Linked DNA regions of Homo sapiens: all the other regions are linked to region 1. The links are contacts of gene promoters, found by promoter capture Hi-C in blood cells and fetal thymus (Javierre and others, 2016). All regions are on one chromosome and are shown on one strand. The core of a region is centred on a gene start or on the middle of the fragment in contact, and the rest is flanking DNA. Distances in the headings are between cores, read along the strand shown. Region 1 holds the start of USP38 (ubiquitin specific peptidase 38). Region 2 has its middle 42 kb from the start of TBC1D9. Region 3 has its middle 6.8 kb from the start of RNF150. Region 4 has its middle 26 kb from the start of RNF150. Region 5 overlaps LOC124900794 (a long non-coding RNA gene).

Region 1 (2,791 bases), core at 135-2,634:
AATTTCCTCCACTCCACCTCAAATCCACGATCCTTCTTAATACTTAATTCCTTCTTAATATTTTATTTTCTATATTACCTTTGTCTTCCACTGTGGCATTATTCCCAGTAAAGACAAACATCTGTGTACCTTCACCTCCTATTGGAAAAATCATTCCTGTCTCTAGCATGACTGATAGATTAATTACCTCAATTCTCTTTTATCTTCCGTATCTTCCTACGAGTCAACTTGGTCTTAAGTTCCCTTTTACTCAAGCTCCTGTCTCCTCTAAACTGCTCTTCTTAAGACTACCATAATCGACGTGTGAATATATTAGTGTAATCGTGTTTGTAACTTGGTAAAAAAACAAAACACTATTTAGCAAACTGAAGTAACAGAATTTTGTTCATTTTTCTACGGGACATTTTAAATGACCTATTTCTTTAAAGTTTTGTCTGTATTACAGGGCCTTAATGTCTAGTTTCACAACTATATTAACCAAGCCTGAAGCAGGCTACAGTTAGGCAATATTTTCCAATATAAAGACCTCTGATTAAATTCTTACTGTGAATCTTCGGAATTTGGCATGAAACAGAACAAGCATGATTGCACCTGTTCTTCCCTATTGTAAACCATCTTCGGTGTCAACATATACAATAAGTTTTGTGGTATTTCCACCTGGTTTTCTATTTTCAAAGTACCCTTGTATGACACAGGTATAAAAATATTTTGATTCTAATCTGCCATTTTCCTTACTCTCACACTTTTTTGGACGGCTTATAATTTTCGATATGGTACAAAGCTCACTAACTGGTTCTTTGCTAGAGGCCTGCTACTGATACTGATGGTCGCTAAATGCTAGGTACGCCGCCAGTATTGCTCTTACTTCAATACCGACATCGCAGGATAAAGGCAGTCACATTTAGGCGCGCAAGCGCAATTCTTGATTAATGAGCCAAGGCAGACTTCTCAATCCGAGTTTTGAGTTTTCCTTACTTTTCCCCCAAATGCTCTTTTCCTCGGATTTCACATCGATAGCACTTATTCGAGTTTTCACGAGTAACCTGACGCAGGCGGAACCGACGAAGACTAGCCGGCAAGAATCCTACAGTCGCAGCCATCTGCGCAGCGTCCGCCGGGGACGCTCCGCGCGGAAGACCGCCTGTGACTCGACACACTCTCCAGTGACGCGGCCGTCGCCGCACCTGCGCGGCGGGGCGGGAAGGAGACTCCCAGCGCCGGGGGGAAGGGAGTCTACGACTCGGGAGGGAGGTGGGGGAGCAGGGAGGGAGAGAGGGAACAAGGGAGAAGGAGAGAGGCGGACAGGCGGAGGGGCGGAGGGGCAGAGGGGCGGAGGGGCGGTCCTTCCGGAGGTTCTTAGGTCCTTCACTTCCTGTTTGCCGGCACTTCAAAATCCGGGTCAAAGGGTGTCGCTTCGGTCTCTTCTCCCCGGCTGATCCCAGCACTCTCCGTGACAGCGCCTCCTGACTCAGCCCAGGACCGGCTTCTTCTCACGACCTGCTGGAGACTGGACGCCCACACCTGACCCGGAACTCGGAGGCGTGCTTCCTCCACCCGCCGGCTAGCAGCCCCGGGCCCTGAGCTCCCGCCGACGCCGCTGGGGGGCCCGACAGGCCCCTCGGCGCTGATGCTGAGTGGGATCGAGGGCCCGGGGCGGCGGCGGAGTACGGGCCTCTGGCGCCTTAGGCCAGCCGCAGGTGTCGGTTCTTAGGCTCTCCAGGCTCGCTAGCTCCCGCCCCGGCTTGGATGGGTCTCCCTGCGCCATAAATGTGGCTGCTGAGGCGGCGGTGGCCGTGGCCCGTCGCGCTGCTGCTGCGGCGCTCCAAGTTCATCTCCGCCCCGGGGCTCTCCTGCCCCACCTCGGGGCTGCCGCCACCCGCTCCTTATCCCCTGGCCCTGGCCTTGCAGCGTGGCGACAATGGACAAGATCCTGGAGGGCCTTGTGAGTTCCTCGCATCCCCTGCCCCTCAAGCGGGTGATTGTGCGGAAGGTGGTGGAATCGGCGGAGCACTGGCTAGACGAGGCGCAGTGCGAGGCCATGTTTGACCTGACGACCCGGCTCATCCTGGAGGGCCAGGACCCTTTCCAGCGGCAGGTGGGGCACCAGGTGCTGGAGGCCTACGCACGATACCACCGGCCAGAGTTCGAGTCCTTCTTCAACAAGACCTTCGTGTTGGGCCTCCTTCATCAGGGCTACCACTCTCTGGACAGGAAGGATGTAGCCATCCTGGACTACATTCACAACGGCCTGAAGCTGATTATGAGCTGTCCGTCGGTGCTGGATCTCTTTAGCCTCCTGCAGGTAGAGGTGTTACGGATGGTGTGTGAGAGGCCGGAGCCGCAGCTCTGTGCCCGACTGAGCGACCTTCTGACCGACTTTGTGCAATGCATCCCCAAGGGGAAATTGTCCATCACGTTCTGTCAACAGCTGGTTCGAACGATAGGCCATTTCCAGTGCGTGTCCACCCAGGAAAGAGAGCTGCGGGAATATGTCTCCCAGGTGACAAAAGTGAGTAACTTGCTGCAGAACATCTGGAAGGCCGAGCCTGCCACACTACTGCCTTCCCTGCAAGAAGTTTTTGCAAGCATCTCTTCCACAGGTAAGGGTCATTATCTTTCAGAATATCTCATAAAAAATCAGTATATGTCTCTCTTGCACACACACATTCACACCATGTTTTCCTCCTGCCCTAAAAACATTCTTAAGCGAGAGCAAATCCTAATACCTCATCCCAAATTTATTCACATTCACTACCTTATTCAGGACGTCACATCGTACTTTAAAAACAGG
Region 2 (2,791 bases), core at 126-2,625, 2.4 Mb before region 1:
GGTTGCAGTGAGCTGAGATTGCGCCATTGCACTCCAGCCTGGGCAACAGAGCAAGACTCTGTCAAAAAAAAAAAAAAAAAGTCTCTTCCTTCTGTTTCATTGAAGCTAAAGTTCAGTTCCTGCTGGACTCCTTCCCTATAGCGATAGTTATTACTGAATAAAATCTATCCTTCTGGCTTTAGCTAGTGTCCAGCTTAGTTCGTCTTTGACAGTCAGATTGTTGCTTGCATTCAGCTTTTCCTGTTCTCCGTAGCCCTTGACTTGGTCTCATTCCTTATCACATTTTCGTACTGAAAATTGGAAGAGCAATGGTCAGACTCTCCTGAGAAAGGATGAACCTGGTTCACTCTGAAGCACAATAGAGGGTGTGTGTTAGCATCTGGCTAGGTTGTAGTCATTAGCATATTATCTGATTTTTTTTTTCTGAATGGTTGACTCAATGTTGGGTAAGACTTAATAAAAATTCATTTTATCTGCTCTCCTTTTTCTCTCTTTCCCTCAATCTTTACAGTTTTCCCCCCTTAACCTTGCATCAGGGTGTTCCCAGGATATTGTGTCGGGGGTCTTAACTTACATTTGATGTATGAAATGAAATGCATTTTCCCAACATAGCTATGCTTAAGTAGAGCAAACTTCTGTGTTTTAACCCTCCCCTTTTTATGCCAGTTGAGTAGGGAGGAAGGAACATCCAGAGTAGAAGCCTCTGGGACATTGCTCCCTTGAGATTCAGGGTGAAGACTAATATCATTAGTCAAGGCCAGATGTGACTGGGTTTCTTGCCAAGAGATTGGTGAGAGCTTATCTGGGGATGGAATGACTTGACTGGACGTCTTGCCAACCCTGGAGTAACCCTTGTTGGCGGGGGGGAGATCCAGTGTTAGAACCAACGAGCTGGAGGTTGTGGGTGAGCACGGAGTCACACCATCTGCAATTCAAGTCAGTGACTGTGGATCTCCCAGACTCCCCTGCCCATCCGAAAGTGCCCATGAGCTGTGGTTATCAAGGACAAACTACCAGATGGGTGACTGTGCCAGCAGGACCAGCAAAATGGAAGCTGAGGAGCTGAGGAGCCTAACACCAACCACAAAACCCAAACTTCCCAGAGAGATGAAATTATTCACCCAGAAACCACACAGGAGATGCTGCAGGACACTTTGAAATGTACTTAGTGAATACCCGGGAAATTTCACCTATGCTGCAGGCACTGTGTTAAATGCTTTGTGTACGTGATCTCATCTGATTCTCTCAATATCCTAAGTGGGTAAGTTCCATTACTACCCCATTATAAAGAAAATGGAGCTGAGAAAAGGTACGTAATTTATCTAAGGGTGTACTCTTTTTTTTTTTTTTTTTTTTTTTTGAGTCAGGGTCTCGCTCTGTCACCCAGGCTGGAGTGCAGTGGCACGATCTCGGCTCACTACAACCTCCACCTTCTGGGTTGAAGTGTTTCTCCTGTCTCAGCCTCCCGAATAGCTGGGACTACAGGTGTGTGTCATCACACCTGGCTAATTTTTGTATCTTTAGTAGAGCTGGGGTTTCATTATGTTGGCCAGGTTGGTCTCATCTCAAATGCCTAGCCTCAAGCATCTGCCCACCTCGGCCTCCCAAAGTGCTGGGATTACAGGCATGAACCACTGCACCCAGCCAGGGTGTACTCTTAGCAAGTGGCAGAGCAAGGACTGGAATGCATGATGTAATCCCTTGCTACTTCTCTGGTTTTATATCCTTACCAGGCCATCTCTTGGTGACCCCATTGAACTTCTGGCTCTTCCTCTCAAAGCCAAGCATGCTCTCCACTAGTCCTGAGTGTGCTCTTTCCTCTGCTGGGCTCCCCTTCCCTCTGATAACTGAGTGGGTTTCTCCTTCCCTTCAACCAGGTCTCTGTTCAAATATCCCTTTTCAGTGAGGTCTTTAGCTCTCCTATCTAGAATGGCATCCTTAACCCTTATTGATCTTTATCTCCAACAGCCTGCCTCATTTTTCCTTTTAGTTTAGCAGCTGTTTATTTCAGCCTGGACCTCTTTTTTTTTTTTTTTTTTTTTTTTTCTTTTAGAGATAAGGTCTCACTCTGTTGCCCAGGCTGTGGCTCAATCGTGGCTCACTGCAGCCTTGGATTCCTGGGCTCAAGTGATTCTCCTGCCTCAGCCTCCCAAGTAGCTGGAACTACATCTGCATGCCACTACACCCAGCTTATTATTTTATTTTTTGTAGAGATGGGGGTCTCACTATGCTGCCCAGTCTTGTCTTAAACTCCTGGCCTCAAGCAGTCTTTCTGCCTCAGCCTCCGAAAGTGCTGGGATTATAAGCATGAGCCCTCACGCCTAGTCCATGGACCTCTCTTCTGAACTCCAAGCTGTGATAACCAATTTCCAACTTGACATACCACTTGGCTGTCTATAAACTTCCTCGAGTTTACCATAAACTTACAAAAATGAGCCCTGATCTTCCTCCCGCCTTCCTTCAATCTGTTATTCTTGCAGTCTTCTTTATTTCAATGAATGGCACCTCTAGTCTTCCAATCCCTCAGAGCGAAAGTTTAGGGTCACCTTTCACTTCTCTCCTTTTCTCATTCCTCCTGCCCAATCTGTCAGGAAATCCTGTTCTCTACCCTCAACTTAGATCCCGGCTGCAAACACTTCACACTGCCTCCATGGGGTTCCCCCGGCCTCATCACCATCACTGCTTCTCGCCGAGATTATTGTGATAATCTCCTCACTGATCTCCCTGCTTCTGCTCTAGGTTTCTTCAGCTTATTCTCTGCATAGCAGCCAAAGTGATCTTTTAGAAATAT
Region 3 (2,791 bases), core at 124-2,623, 2.0 Mb before region 1:
TCCAAAAATATTTAAGGAAAGTCAATTTAGGCTGGGTGTGGTGACTCAAGTCTGTAATATCAGTTTTGGGAGGTGGAAGCGGGAGGATTGCTTGAGGTCAGGAGTTCAAGACCAGCCTTAGGCGACATAGGGAGACCCTGTCTCTACAAAAAGAAGACAAAGAAAAATTTAGCTAGGCATGGTGGCACAAGTGCCTGTAGTCCCAACTGCTTGGGAGGCTGAAGCAGGAGGATCACTTGAGCACAGGAGTTCGAGGCTGTGGTGAGCCATGACCAATCACGCCACTGTACTCCAGCCTGGATGATACAGCGAGACCCTGTCTCGAAAAAATAAAGTAGGGTATTCATTTATGTTTATATGGTTGCCATCTCTGTGTTAGGCCCTGCGCTGACGCTCAGAGGAATGGCAGGGCTCCTCCCATCAAGTTTAGAATCTAGTTTTAGCGACAGATGTAATCATCTAGGTGAATTGTGAAGGTGGAGTGTGGTCATTTTTAAAACACACATATAAGAATTCAGTGAGAGCAGTAATTCCACATAGAAATGAAAACATTTAGGGATGATTGAACCAGGTCGATTCTGCATCACAGTTAGCCCAGATAGCCTTACAAAGGAGTAGGCTTGCAGAGCTGTTCAAGAAAGATGTCCTGCTTATGACTATATTCTCAGCGTCTGCTGCAGTGTCTGGCCCATAGAAGGCATCAGTAAATGTGTTGAATAATAAATAGTAATGAAGAGCTGCAGTTTTTGACCACTTAATGTACATGCAGGCACTATTTGTTCTAAGCACTTTATTAACTACATAGACTGTCTTAATTAATTCTCAGGATGATTTTATGAGGTCATTACACAAATGAAGAAACAAAAAGTTAAGAGTGGAGTAACTTGCCCGAGGCCATGCAGGTAGCAAGTATAAGAGTGGGGGTTGTAATCCTGGAAGTCTGACTCTAGGGTATGATTTTAAGGGCTATACTACCACATTGGTAGTCTTTTTGTCTCAGATATTCATCATCTTGTTCATTAACTTGACTCTGATTTGAACTTCACTTCTTTTTCCTCTGCTTAATTTCTTTGTTCATTTCAGCTCTCAAGCCTTCACTTCATTTTTTGCTTTCGTAAGTTTTCTTAGCATTGGTGGTGGGGCGCGTTGCTTCTCTGAGGCCAGGTACTTGCTGTACGGGCAAGGTATATGAACTTTAAGAGCCCAGCAACCCCTGCAGCTTCTGCTACAAGTACTGCAGATGGAAATGGAAGGTTTTGGAAACGTTTTTTTAGAGAGTATGCATGAAACTAATAATATTCACTTCTTTGCTCTTTGTTCTCTTACTAACTTCTTAAATTTCAGAACAATAGGATACCTTGCTAAAAATATCCTTTTTTCTTTTTTGCTCCTTTGAATTATCAAGTGACTTCTTTTTATTTCAGTCTTTGATACAATTTTGACATTTAATTTGGGCTTCTTTCCTTTTATCATAAACTCTTCCAAACAACTTTATGTCATAAAATGTTTTGGGAGGCTAGATATGGAAAGTCAGCTTGGAAAAACTCATTTGAGACTTGAGCCAAAACCCACAGAAAACTCTCACCACAATACATCTGTTTCCTTTTTCTTCTTATTTTTTCACATAGTTGTTCATTTTTTTTTGTTCTAAATCATTACTTTTCATTGAGTACATTTTAAAAACTATCTGCTTTTCTTTTTCTGCTCTTTGAAAGATCATCTTGTCCTTTTTCGCCAAAAAGCTGGAATGAGGGAGGTTGAACTAAAAGCCAAGACATTCAGAGCACTGTGCACTGACTGAGCCGGACAGCTGTTAGACACAAGCATCTGTAAATTGTACTGTGTTAAAATTACCACAAAAGAGGGGAGAGAATCCAGGCCCTCTTCCTGCCCTTTCTATTTGGTTGTTTAGAAGGATGTTTTCATAAATACTTTCCCTTTTATGATGAGGCCCATTCCCACAGGGCTGGTAAACAGCAATCTAGGACAATTGAGGGAGACAGCGGTAGCACTGCAAACACAGGTGTCAGAGTTTTAATCCCAGCTCTGTGCCTAATTTGCTATTTAGGTCAAGACTGCAGCATGACTAATCACTCATTTTGTCATGCTTTCCTATTGGTACTAATTCCTAAATATCCACTGAGCCATAATCACACAGAGCCAGTCACAAGACTACAGCATTAATGTATTTCCATTGACTAGTTCTCTCACCACATAGTAAGGACACTGGAAAGGAACAGGGGACAGAAAATAGCATTTACTATTTCCCATAAGCCAGGTCCTGTGCTGGTTTTCATGTTTGTTATCTACACTGAATTAGTAGAGCAGTACCTTCTGTAAAGTTTCTCTTCTGTAAAATGAAGGTGTTGAAATTGATGATGTTTAAAGACCTCTCAAACTTACATTCTGTGGACTTAGTGATTCTGTTAATGAGGTCATGTACAATTTTGTATTTCCATTTCTGTTACTGTTGCTGCTAGGCTTGACTCTATTGGAGTCTACAAACGAATCTGGATAAGGTACTTGGAAATTCTGGTTGAGGAAGCTAGCTATGCAATACCCTTGACACAAGAACAGGTTTCCTCTCTCTTTGAAAAAGTTTTCCTCCTTGAGCTTATTAAGAATAAGATTGTGAATGGTTCATGCCTGTAATTCCAGCACTTTGGGAGGCCAAGGCGGCAGATCACTCGAGGCCAGGATTTCAAGACCAGCCTGCCAAACATGGCACATCCCTGTCTCTACTAAAAAATACAAAAATTATCTGGGCGTGGTGGCACACCCCTGTAATCTC
Region 4 (2,791 bases), core at 118-2,617, 2.0 Mb before region 1:
GGTAGTAATAGTTGTTATATAACATTTACTGATTTCCCAAGGCTTTAGGAATTACAACTATAGAAAGCTCATCCTTAGTGTATTAACATTTACCAAACATTCTGCTGAACTGACATAGTCAAATTTTTCTGTGACATTTCTGCTCATTTATCATTACCATTTCATTTTTACAATGTACAGATAGTGGAAGTGTTAATAGATAAGGTTCTTTCCTCAAAGTTATCCCTACCCCGCCCCCACCACCCCAACCCACATTGTTATATTCCAAGGAAGAACTATCAGTATTTCCTGTGAGTATAATTTGTGAGACATTTAGAACTCAAAACCTCTTTTTACCTGAACCATCCTTCCAATTTATTCACAGATAATCTGAAATTTTGCCATTAGTTCTTCATTCCTTTTTGTTAAGTTTATGTTACCATCTTGAGGGTGCTTTGAAATGGCAGTTCCCAACTTGGTGTTCTTTAAAATATGTATGGTGTGAATCGTTTCATAAAAGAAAGTGTTTCTCAGCCAAGCCAATCTGGAAAATGCTGTAAACTACAGCCCCTATTTGGAGCTAGAAAACCACATTATCACTTTAAATGAAGAGAAGTTCAACAGCTGGTATTATTTTGGTTAACAAGCTGTTTCCAAATTTTTGACCAGAGGTCAGTAAACTTTCTCTGTAAAGAACTGGGTAAGAAAATGTTTTAGGCTCTGTGGGTCATCTAGGGTCTCTGTTGGAACTAATCTAATTCGCCATTGTAGCTTGAAAGTGGCTTTGGACAACATGTAATCAGTGAATGTGGCTGTGTTCCAACAAAACTTAGTTTGTAGACACTGAAATTTGACATTAATATAATTTTCACATCATGAAATATTATTCTCCTTTTGCTTTTCCCCAAACAATTTAAAATCTAAAAACTCTCAGCCATATGAGTTTTGTACATAGCTCACAATCTCTACCAAAACAAGCAGCAGACAAGATTTGGGCTGTGGGCTAGAGTTTGCTGACCCCTAATTGTTGTTGTTGTTGTTTTTTGTTTTTGTTGTTTTTTGTTTTTTGTTTTTTTAATAGGGCCTTGCTGTGTCACCCTGGCTGGAGTGCAGTGGCGCAATCATGGCTAACTGCAGCCTCCACCTTCTGGGCCCAAGTGATCCTCCCACCACAGCCTCCCAAGTAGCTGGGACTACAGCTGTATGTGACCACACCTGGCTAATTTTTGTATTTTTTGTAAACGCAGGGTTTCGTCATGTTTGCCCAGGCTGATCTCCAACTTACGGGTTCAAGTGATCCACCCACCTTGGCCTCCCAAAGTGTTGGGATTACAGGTGTGAGCCACTGCGCCCAGCCTGTCTTTCTTCTTTCTAATTTGTTCAAGTAATATTTCAGCCATTGTCAAATGCCAGTCCTTACTGGTGTGTTTTTTTTTCAAACTCCCTACTTTTGTCTGTTACAATTCGCAACAATTGTGATAATTTTGCAAGAATCCTTGATTCCCAAAGGTTCTACAGCTGTGATTCTAGAAGCTCTGCCCCAGGTCATCAGCAGTGGGGTCACCTGGCACCTGGTAAGAAATGCAAATTGTCAGGCCCCACCCCAGAACTACTGAGCTGGTTCAGCAATCTGTGTTTTCACAAGTCCTCCAGGGTATTCTGATGCATGCTAAAACTTGAAAAATCACTATTACATAGCTCCAATCAAAATTTTAACATACCATAAGATAAGGAAAGGAAAGAAAATGGAAGTTATCACAGATTATCTGGCTAAGGCAAATCAACTGTTACAAGAATAAGTATGGAAAGGAAGTCTGTAGGAAGGAAGTGACTGAAGGAATTAGAAATCTGCATTACTGGGGAAATGCTGGTTGGCAGGCTGATAAATCTTATCCCAAGCATCATTATTGTATATTTGTATAAATCTAAATGTATGTAACTTTGTATAAAGTGTCTTTGCAAAGTATCATTGTGAAACTTTACAGATAATCTAAAAGTATGTCAACTCATAGAAAAACATAAAATAACAAAATTAATTAATTTATCAATGATATGGTTTGGATCTCTATCCTTGCCCAAATCTTATGTCAAATAGTAATCCCCAGTGTTGGAGGTGGGGCCTGGTGGAAGATGATTGGATCATGGGCGTGACTTCTAATGGTTTAGCACCGTCCCCTCTTTGGTACTATAGAGTGAGTGAGTTCTCACAAGAGCTGGTTGTTTAAAAGTGTGTGGCACCTCCCCCTCCCACTTCTTCCTGCTCTAGCTAAGTAAGACATATCTGTTGCCATTTCACCTTCTGCCGTGATTGAAAGTTTCTTGAAGCCTCCCCAGGAGCTGAGCAGATGCCAGCATCATGCTTCCTCTACAATCTGTGGAACTGTAAGCCAATTAAGCCTCTTTTCTTTATAAATTACCCAGTCTCAGGTATTTCTTTATATCAATGAGAGAGTGGCCTAATACAGAAAATTAGTACTGAGGAGTAAGGCATTGCTATAAGGATACCTGAAAATATGGAAGCAACTTTGAAATTGAGTAATGAGCAGAGGTTGGAAGAGTTTGGAGGGCTCAGAAGATGATAGGAAGGTGAGGGAAAATTTGGGACACCCTAGAAACTGGTTAAATGGTTGTGACCGAAGCGCTGATAGTGATATAGACATTAAAGTCCTGGATAATGAGGTCTTAGATGAAGATGAGGAACTTATTGAGAACTCAAGTAAAGATCACTTTTGCTATGCTTTAGCAAAAACCCCTGTTTTGACTGTACCCCTGCCCTAGGGATCTGTGGAACTTTGAACTGGAGAGTGATGAT
Region 5 (2,791 bases), core at 207-2,706, 2.0 Mb after region 1:
GAGGCAGGCGGATCACGAGGTCTGGAGTTTGAGACCAGCCTGACCAACATGGTGAAATCCTGGCTCTACTAAAAATTCAAAAATTAGCTGGTTGTGGTGGCACACGCCTGTAATCCCGGCTACTCGGGAGGCTGAGGCAGAAGAATCGCTGGAAACCGAGAGGCGGAGGTTGCAGCGAGCCAAGATCCGGCCATTGCACTTCAGCCTGGGTGGGCAACAGAGGGAGATTCCGTCTCAAAAAAAAAAAACAAAAAACGAAACTAGTTACCCAGCTTTGATCATGCAAAGACAACACCGTAAGATAACAGAGCAATGAGATGGAGGACTGAGCTCCTGAATACTTCATAGCCTGTGATCCTTGAACCAGTCCTCTCCAGACTGTGAGAAATAAACTTATTTTACCAACCGTTGCTGCTGTTGTTATTATAGCTACTTAGTCTATGTATTCTAGCACATTTCCCCCTCAAATATTAAATAAGTGATAACATTTGGGACAAATTAAATTTATTTATAAGAGTTTCTGAGTTGAGCAGAACATAATTCTTTTTTTTTTTCTTTTGAGACAGAGTCTGTCACCCAGGCTGGAGTGCAGTGGCACCATCACGGCTCACCTCCCCAGGCTCAGGTGATCTTCCTACCTTAGCCTCCAAAGTAGCTGGGACTACAGGTGTGCACCCCCACTCCCAGCTAATATTTTGTGTGTTTTTAGTAGAGATGGGTTTTCGCCATGTTGCCCCAGCTGGTCTCAAACTCCTGAGTACAAGCAATCCTCCTGCCCCAGCCTCCAAAAGTGCTGAGATTACAGGCGTGAGCCACCACACCTGGCCCATAATTCTTTTTTCTGAGAAGTTAGGGAATTGCCAAAGTCTTAATTGCAAGATTCCAAATGTTAAAGGGCTTCAAAATATGAAGTTTTAACATCGAAATAATGGTGTTATTTCAACTAATGACTTTCTCCCTCACCAACCCACATTCCCCTTCAGCTGCTACATTTGATGGTGTTGACCACCTTTTCATTTTGTTACTCTCCTTCACCTTTTGTAAGGTGAGATATCTTGTGTAGTCAAGCTATTTAAATATCTTGTCTTGATTATATCTCCTTTGCTGATTCCTTTTCTCCCCCACTCCCCATCTCCTAAATGTGGGGGTGCCCCAGGTCTCAAGTTTTAACTTTATTTAGCCCTGTTCTCTTTTTCAAGCTTTAATGTCTTATCTCTAGTCCATGCAGGACATTTCCATCTAAAACACATTTCTAAAAGTAAACTCATTTTTCCCTTAAAACCATCCCCCTCAAGCACTCTAACATCAAGCATTGGGTTTAAATAGTAGATACTCAAAAAACACAACATTTGCTGAATGATTTAATGATGTATCATTTATTATGGTAGATAGCTCTTGTTTTTGCTTAATCGTTATCCATTCTCTGTGGAATAGATGAGAAACAATAAGGAGTTATAGTCAAGGTGATAAAAACCAACTTTTTGCAAATGAAATAATTTAGTTAAATGCTCAGGAAAATCAGGAAAAAACTGGTGTGATGGGACTACATTTCCAATTTATATTTTGGAGGAATGATCATTCAGAAAAATAATCTTATCTGTAAATTTACAACAGAATGAAATGATAGGAGAGAATGTATGCTATAGCTTTTGTGTTTCATTTGCAAGCTATCACAAGGAGGAACTGGCTGGTAGTAGTAAAAGATTTTACCTAGTAAGCTTATGATTCTATACGCATTGCCCACCTTCTCTGGTAACTTGGAATATCAACCTTAGCAAAGTCCTTCACAAGCCTTCCAAGTCTTCAATACTATACATTCCTGCATAGCAGAAAATAACATTGCATGAGTTAGTTTACCTTTTCCTTGCTAGAGCAAAAGGATCAAAAGAATTACAGAGGGGAGACTTCATCTCCCAAAATGGGAAGCAAATACTTCTTACTGCAGGAGAGTGTTTGAAGATCAAGGCTTGAAAGAAAAGAAGACCACTTTTCTTAGTTTTTAAAGTAATTTTTAAAATTTCACTCTGGCTTAATGGTCATCAAGATCAATTCAAAAAATTACAAAAGAAAAAAAAAAAGGAAAGAAGGAAGGAAGTACAAGGAAGGGTAAAGGGGCCAGGACCCTGGTGCCATCTATTAGCCAAGTGAGCTAACCTAGAGAAGGACCTTGCAAGGGGCTTGGCTGCAAATGCTCAGATATCTGTCTTTTCTAGCTCACCATCCAGCCTCCGCATGAGGGAGCATCTCTTGTTGGCCATGCTACTTAACTGTACCAGCACTTCGTAGCTTGACTGCTCTGTAGTACCAAAGTTGGTATATGCCATGAGATCCTTACTCAATCCTAGTAGAGAAAAAAGAGCCCCCATCTGCACTTTAGACAGATGAACTGAATAAGTTTCAAACCCCAGAGCTAGGACTGCAGTCCTGAGACCCTATAACCTGTATGACTAGAGAAGTGAAACTATGATTTAGTTTCTTATTAGAGCTTCGACTTCCGTATATTCCTATGCCTAAGCTGGATGAACTAATAAACCTCACAGTAGACTGAGGCTCTTACACAAGTAGCTATAGCTAGTCATAGTCCATTATCTCTGCAAATAAAACCTCCACGTACTTCCAACCATTTACCTCTCCTTCCACCACTACCTCTTGATTCCACCCTGACAGAAGCAAACTTGCAAAGTCCCATTGCAAGGTATTTACTTTAGCTCCCCAAATAGGATTGTAAACTCTTTGTAGGCTTGTAGAATTTAAGATTCTTTTTTTCTTTTTCAAGTGTCTAATAGTATAT

What was found. The method cuts DNA at HindIII sites, captures the fragments that hold promoters and counts their contacts. A CHiCAGO score of 5 or more calls a contact.
Region 2: a fragment that was not itself captured here is called in contact with the fragment with the promoter of USP38 in region 1 in 1 of 17 cell types (monocytes); the score reaches 6.2 in monocytes.
Region 3: a fragment that was not itself captured here is called in contact with the fragment with the promoter of USP38 in region 1 in 1 of 17 cell types (monocytes); the score reaches 6.7 in monocytes.
Region 4: a contact is called between a fragment that was not itself captured here and the fragment with the promoter of USP38 in region 1, in 1 of 17 cell types (monocytes). The highest score is 9.4, in monocytes.
Region 5: a contact is called between a fragment that was not itself captured here and the fragment with the promoter of USP38 in region 1, in 4 of 17 cell types (total CD4 T cells, naive CD8 T cells, total B cells and 1 more). The highest score is 11.3, in total CD4 T cells.

Annotation. Positions count from the first base shown.
Region 1 is chr4:143,183,533-143,186,323 of GRCh38, forward strand. USP38 (ubiquitin specific peptidase 38) reads left to right here and starts at 1,385. Exons shown (of 10, transcript NM_032557.6): 1 at 1,385-2,600. The coding sequence starts at 1,919. It overlaps USP38-DT (USP38 divergent transcript), which reads right to left and starts at 1,329. Exons shown (of 4, transcript NR_185979.1): 1 at 976-1,329. RefSeq lists enhancers at 435-1,320, 1,321-2,205 and silencers at 1,257-1,306, 1,527-1,776. The HindIII fragment of the contact is 4,447 bases long and covers 1-2,791 here.
Region 2 is chr4:140,797,228-140,800,018 of GRCh38, forward strand. No RefSeq gene overlaps it. Among named protein-coding and RNA genes, the nearest start is that of TBC1D9, 42 kb to the left of the region's middle. The HindIII fragment of the contact is 6,894 bases long and covers 1-2,791 here.
Region 3 is chr4:141,138,896-141,141,686 of GRCh38, forward strand. It overlaps a transcript of RNF150 not described here. Among named protein-coding and RNA genes, the nearest start is that of RNF150, 6.8 kb to the left of the region's middle. The HindIII fragment of the contact is 6,967 bases long and covers 1-2,791 here.
Region 4 is chr4:141,158,508-141,161,298 of GRCh38, forward strand. It overlaps a transcript of RNF150 not described here. Among named protein-coding and RNA genes, the nearest start is that of RNF150, 26 kb to the left of the region's middle. The HindIII fragment of the contact is 7,432 bases long and covers 1-2,791 here.
Region 5 is chr4:145,184,437-145,187,227 of GRCh38, forward strand. It overlaps LOC124900794 (a long non-coding RNA gene), which reads left to right. Exons shown (of 2, transcript XR_007058294.1): 2 at 1-406. Among named protein-coding and RNA genes, the nearest start is that of OTUD4, 5.2 kb to the left of the region's middle. The HindIII fragment of the contact is 519 bases long and covers 1,198-1,716 here.